2 separate regions of the Homo sapiens genome follow, and region 1 is linked to region 2. The links are contacts of gene promoters, found by promoter capture Hi-C in blood cells and fetal thymus (Javierre and others, 2016). All regions are on one chromosome and are shown on one strand. The core of a region is centred on a gene start or on the middle of the fragment in contact, and the rest is flanking DNA. Distances in the headings are between cores, read along the strand shown. Region 1 overlaps PRICKLE1 (prickle planar cell polarity protein 1). Region 2 holds the start of GXYLT1 (glucoside xylosyltransferase 1).

Region 1 (3,319 bases), core at 748-3,247, 320 kb before region 2:
ATTTTGGACCATTTCACACAGTCTGTGTAGTAATTTGCAGGATTCACCCAGGACTCTCTCTCTTGCTGATCTCTTGTCTGACCCCTTGGAAGACTGGCTGAGGAGGAGTAGTCTTTTTTTTTTTTTTGAGACGGATTCTTGCTCTGTCACTCAGGCTGGAGTGCAGTGGCGCGATCTTGGGTGACTGCAACCTCTGCCTCCCAGGTTCAAGCGATTCTCCTGCCTCAGCCTCCCGAGTAGCTAGGATTACAGGCGTGCATCACCACGCCCAGCTAATTTTTGTAGTTTTAGTAGAGACAGGGTTTCACCGTGTTGGTCAGGCTGGTCTCGAACTCCTGACCTCAGGTGATCCACCAGCCTCAGCCTCCCAGAGTGCTGGGATTACAGGCGTGAGCCACACCACCGGGAAGAGTGGTCTTAAATGTGCATATTTTATGGTGCATAATTTATGATGTCCCTAATTGTCACTACAAATTACATTCCTGAAGAGCAATTTAGCAGCTGGGTGCTAGTTATCTGAAGGTTTGCAGTTCTGCTGAGTTGGCTCAGCTGGTCTTCTCATTAGCTACAAGAGGCCAAACCCTGTACCTAGGGAAAGGTAACTTTTAAAGATTAAGTGAGCTGAGATGCTCAGTTCTGTATGTTGATGCCATTCTCACTGTCTCTTTTGCAGATCCAGCTCTATTTTGCTTGCTTACCAGAGGAAAAAGTTCCTTACGTTAACAGCCCCGGAGAGAAGCATCGGATTAAACAGCTTTTGTACCAGTTACCACCACATGATAATGAGGTAAAATAGCAGGAAGAAGGCTAATTAGAAAAAAGAAGAAAAAATGCATGAGAAGCATTGAGATGCTGCTCATAAACCCCAACTCCTCACTGGCGAGGGCTCCCTTTTGCCTTTCTTTAGTTAAAATTTGGCCAGAGAATACAGCTTTCCATTCTTTGAGAGAAAGAGAGAAAAGAGTATCAGTGTAATAAACTTAACACAAGTTGGTTTTTATAGTGTTTGCAGCCACCCACCAATGATCAGGAACCTACAAATTCCTGAGATTTCCCAGCCCCTGCATCCAGAGTGAATGCTTTATGGTCATTCAGGCCTGCAGTTGAGTTGAGTGCATGTAGAATGGAGAGTAAAAGTGGCAATTAACAAGTTTAAACCTTTTGTGGAAAGGTTAATGTCCTATATATATTTTTTAATTCTGTGTTGATAAGGGTTTTCAATTAAACATTTCTTATTTAAAAAAAAAGTATTCCTTCACATTGCATTTCCCTTTTTCTAGAGAGGCTGTAAAATTCAGATATGGTGTCATTTTAAAATCGTGGGGGTGTGACACAGGCGAGCTAAACTTACTGTTTCACTTCCTGAAACCCTAACTCTGGAAGTAGAGAACTGGTGAGAAAGACTGTGCACTCAGTGTGGTGTTTCTGTTTTGCTTTCTGTGAAGGTACGGTATTGCCAGTCTTTGAGTGAAGAGGAGAAAAAAGAGTTGCAGGTGTTCAGTGCTCAGCGGAAGAAAGAAGCACTGGGAAGAGGAACAATTAAGCTTCTGTCCAGAGCAGTCATGCATGCTGTGTGTGAGCAGGTGAGCAGCCCCTTCTCTGATGCGTAGCTTGTGGCAGTGATGTGGATGGGGTGGACAGTCGGGGGTAGGTGACTGGACTAGCAGAGGTGTGGGTCCTGAAAGCCTCCAGAAAATGAGAGAAAGACAGCCTAGCTTTTTATTAAATAGCAAATCATGTTTCATATTTGTAACTAGCTACACTGCTGTGTATGACAGCAGGAGTCAGTCACCCTTATGCAAACATTGGGTGAAATCCTGCCTTTGGTAGGATCCTGGCATGGAGGTAGGTGCTAGGATACATCTCGTATTCAAAAGATGCAGAAACATAATGAAGACATTCAGATCTTTGCTGGCAGTTCTCAGAGTAGGAAATGTATCCAGCAGGAGGCTGGCACAGGAAAACCACTATTTGTGTGAATCAGATTACACCGTCCTTAGAAATAGTTGTAGTATGTCTGAGACACGTGCCTTACAGTGGAGAATCACCAGTAATCCAGCATTAAAGAGCTATTTAATCACTAAAAGAGGTAGCAAAAATAAATACATTCCTGACAAATTCGAGATTTATCCTAAAGTAGGAAAGCCTGAGAATCCTGTCTTTAAAAAATGATCCTTTTACATTCAAACCCATTTGTTTGTAGTGTGGTTTGAAGATAAATGGAGGTGAAGTTGCAGTGTTCGCCTCCCGTGCGGGCCCTGGTGTGTGCTGGCACCCATCCTGTTTTGTCTGTTTCACGTGTAATGAGCTGCTGGTCGACCTCATCTATTTTTATCAGGATGGAAAAATTCACTGTGGCAGGCACCATGCAGAACTGCTCAAACCACGGTGCTCAGCATGTGACGAGGTAAAAAAAAGTTCATCCTTTCACACTGGGAAAAATAAGCTTAGATTAAGCCAATATTCCACTGTTTACATCAAGCAAAATACTAAAATTTCCTGGATTTTGTTCTGTGTGCATGTTTTAAACATAATCCTGTACATTCATACAATGAAATGATCTATATTTGGTTGCTGCAAAAGTAATTGCGGTTTTTTGCCATAATGGTCAAAACCGCAATTAATTTTTCACCTTCCTGATAGAAAGGGAAGCAGATGTCTTTGTACTTTGATAAGTATTATGTCTTCAGTGGGTTGTGAGAAAATACAAGCTGCAGAAGAGCATGTAGTAGATGGTCTCATTTTTGTTAAGAATTTAAAAAACAATATGATATATGTATTTGTTTATGCTCAGAAAAGGTATGGAAAGACAAATACCAAATTAATAGTAGTTACCCTCGGGGAAGGTGGGAATGGATGATGGCTTGAAAGGAAAAATTTTTTCCCTTTAGCTTTTTATTTTAAAATAATTTTAGATTTACAGAAGAGTTGCAAAGCTATTACAGAGAGATCCTGCATGCCCTTCTCCCAGCTTCCCCTGACACTAACGTCTTACATAACCATAATATATGTATCAAAACTAAGAAATTATCAGCAGTGTAATACCATTAACTAAACCATAGTCTTTGTTTAGATTTTCCCAGTGTTTTAACAGATGCTCCTTTTCTTATCCAAGATCAATCCAGGGTGCTTCATTGCATTTACTCGTTGTATCTTCTTAGTCTCCTTCAATCTATGACAATAAACTTTGTTTTTATTTTTATACATTCATTTACTTTATACATTTTTTTCAACAATGTTCTATTTGAACATATTTTTGTTTTTGTTTTGTTTTGATTTATTTTTTTGGGATGGAGTTGCTCTCTGTTGCCCAGGCTGG
Region 2 (2,950 bases), core at 363-2,862:
ATGTTCTCATTCTCTTTACACATCTTGATAGCATGCTAATGTTCATTTTTTATCAGGTAAAGCAAGAAGGGGAGGAAGTTGAACCTTAAATTTGTTTAGTGACTTTATCATGGTCACAGAACCACTACTTTTTTGGTATAGGGAGCCAAGGATCCAAATGGAGACTGCTACTATTTTGCGCAGCATTTCCCCACCTTGTATCTCATGGCCAAACTTTTCAACGCCCCAGATGCAATTTCAGCAGTTAAACGCATGATTTTTCCCCATGAATGTGTGTTCGTGTGTGTGTGTATTTTTAAGTATCCCTTCCCTCACTTTTTGGCACTGGTGCTGCTTTCTGCCTCCAATCTCTCCTCTCTCTGTTTCAGCCTCCACACTACAGCCAGAATCTGCTCTCTAAAATGCAATTGTGATCATGTTACTTCCCTATTTAAAAACCCTTCAATGGTTCACTAATGTCTTGCAGATTAAATTCAAACTCCTTGGTGTGCTAAACAAAGCACTCAAATATCTGGCCCCTTCTACGCGCTTATCGCTCATCATACCCTCTCTTGCATTCACTTAGCTGGTGGTATCAAACTTCTCAACAGTTCCCTACACAAGAGCCTGTTTATTGATCCTTCAGCCTGGAATTACTTCCCTTACCCGACTCAAGACTCTAGCGCCACCTTTGCTATGAAGTCTCTCTTGACCATACTCACAGATAGAACTGATTGTTCCTTTGTGTGTATGCCCACACCCTTACAGGCCTGGATCTTAAGTCTGTTATCACTGCGTTGCGCTTATTTACAAGTATCCGCTGTCCCACCCACGCTCCACTTAGGCCTCTTTATACCCCTAGGTACTCACACAGAGCTTGGCACAAGTGATGCTTTATAAATGGTCAATGAATGAACGTAGTGGAAACACAGAAGAAGAGGGAGAAGAACTGGGGAAGAAAGAAGCTCTGTGGAGAGAATACTAATTGTTTTGCACATGAAAATAATGAGTTGTGAGGGAGGTCAAAAAGGTCAAAGGGAAGAGCCCTGCCTTACAGGAACTCACTGTCTGCTGGGAGGCAAGAGGTAAGGTCCGCATACCAAACACACGAAGCAATGAGCTTATCGGGGTGAAAATGGCTCGTGCACATTATAGTATCACAGAAACTTAGAGGCTGGGGGAGGATGGAGAGGAAACTGGCCTAGTCAAGTGTCTTCTAAGTGTTAGGCGGTTTTCGAGCGTTAAACAGTTTAATCTTTACAACCACCCCATGATGAGGATAGTAGCTCCATTTTAGGGACGAAGAAACATGCTCAGAGAATTTAGGTTGCCCAATGTCACAAACTACCATGTGGAAGGACCATAATTAGAATTTAGGTCAACTGCCTCCAGAGCCCTGAGGCTTTCGCTCCCCCTCTCTCGGCGGTCGAGACCCACAGGGCTCCCATTCACCTGCGCGTCGGCCTGCGCTAGCTATAGCCCTCAGGCGCGCCGCGTTCCGCGCACTCACACCACCCTCTGCGCGCCAGCCCTGCGTCCCTCCCACGCGAACTGCGCCGGCGCGTCCAGCCCTCCCGCCCGGGGGAGGGGCGGGGTTGCGTCGCTGCCGCTGACCCTTGAGCGCGCGGCGGCAGAGGCGGTGTCCAGGCTTCCGGGCGGGTAGTCCTTCGGCTCCGGAGCCGCGACTGCGCTCGCCTAGGTGGTGGGCGGGGAGGGAAGGAAGGGAGCGGGCGCAAGGCGGCGGCGGCGGCTGCGGGTGAGGAACTTGTTGCGCCCGCGGCTGCGCGGTGCCCCTCCCTCCGCTCCAGTTCGTCGGGGCGGGCGCGGCGGCGGCGGCGAAGGAGGAGCGCGGCCGGGGCGATGCGGCGCTACCTGCGCGTCGTGGTGCTGTGTGTGGCCTGCGGCTTCTGCTCGCTCCTTTACGCTTTCAGCCAGCTCGCCGTGTCCCTGGAAGAAGGAACGGGCGGCGGTGGCGGGAAGCCGCAGGCCGCGGTGGCTTCCTGGCTCGCGGGCGGCGGACGCGGCGCCGTGAGAGGCGCCGGCGTCGCGGGCCCCGCAGCGCATCCCGGCGTGTCGGACAGGTACGGGCAGTTCCCGGTGTGGGGGACGCGGCGGGCGCGGGGCGCTGGGCGCGGGCTCGGCCTAGCCCGGGCTGCTCGCCGGTGGGTGCCGCGTCTCCCGCGTCTTTCCTCCTGTCTCTGACCCCTCACTCATTTCCCTCCTTCCCCTCCGGCCGGGGCTAAACCTGCGCTGCTCCCGCCTGAGAGTGTCCTACACTTTCTGTGTTTATCTTTTGACCCAGTCATGCGCCCTTTAAAGCAGTTAGAAATTAATTTTCAACTTTTTAAAAAGAGGGTTCTTTGAAAATAAGAGGTGTCCACAAAAGCCTTACTGCTGCCTGGCTAGTGAGAATTTCCTCTTGTTTCAGTGGAGTTCAAGTTGAGATATTTAAACATGAGGCTGGCGCCCTAGTTCAGTGTTTAAGGATTGTGTGTGTGTGTGTGAGTGTATATGTGTGTGTATTTTGTCCCTCATGCTGATTTTCCTGTGTTAACGCTTACACTTCTAAGTATTAGCCATGGTTAGTTAAATTTGGAAATGGCATTTGTGCGGGTTGTGAAATTTTCTTTTGGAAACACTCAGTTTATTAAGAAACTTAGAGCAAATTAAGAAAAATGAGCGATACTTGGCGTGCTCAAGTCTGTTGTTGGATGGGATGGAGTTACCTTTCTTGACAAATTGGTATTTAAAAAGCGACGTAATGACTTAGGACGTAATCACTGCCAGAGTGGGAATCAACATGAGATTTAAATAGAAAAAAAATGTTTCTGTCAACGCATTATGAATGCTTGAAATCTGAGCGTTTGCACTGCCTTGCAACATGGACACTTCCACCTTATGTATGGGCATCTCTCTGGGAATGACCTGAAGTGCTCCCTACCAAGACTTGGCAAATGCTGCTTTGATATAG

What was found. Contacts are between HindIII fragments. The CHiCAGO score rates a contact against its expected background, and 5 or more counts as called.
Region 1: a contact is called between a fragment that was not itself captured here and the fragment with the promoter of GXYLT1 in region 2, in 2 of 17 cell types (naive B cells and total B cells). The highest score is 6.6, in naive B cells.

The regions. Positions count from the first base shown.
Region 1 is chr12:42,467,714-42,471,032 of GRCh38, reverse strand. PRICKLE1 (prickle planar cell polarity protein 1) reads left to right here. Exons shown (of 8, transcript NM_153026.3): 3 at 674-787; 4 at 1,446-1,583; 5 at 2,204-2,407. Among named protein-coding and RNA genes, the nearest start is that of PRICKLE1, 120 kb to the left of the region's middle. RefSeq lists enhancers at 1,370-1,419, 1,430-1,529. The HindIII fragment of the contact is 902 bases long and covers 1,547-2,448 here.
Region 2 is chr12:42,143,536-42,146,485 of GRCh38, reverse strand. It overlaps GXYLT1 (glucoside xylosyltransferase 1), which reads left to right and starts at 1,612. Exons shown (of 8, transcript NM_173601.2): 1 at 1,612-2,060. The coding sequence starts at 1,840. RefSeq lists an enhancer at 1,185-1,254 and silencers at 1,415-1,914, 1,995-2,224. The HindIII fragment of the contact is 13,899 bases long and covers 1-2,950 here.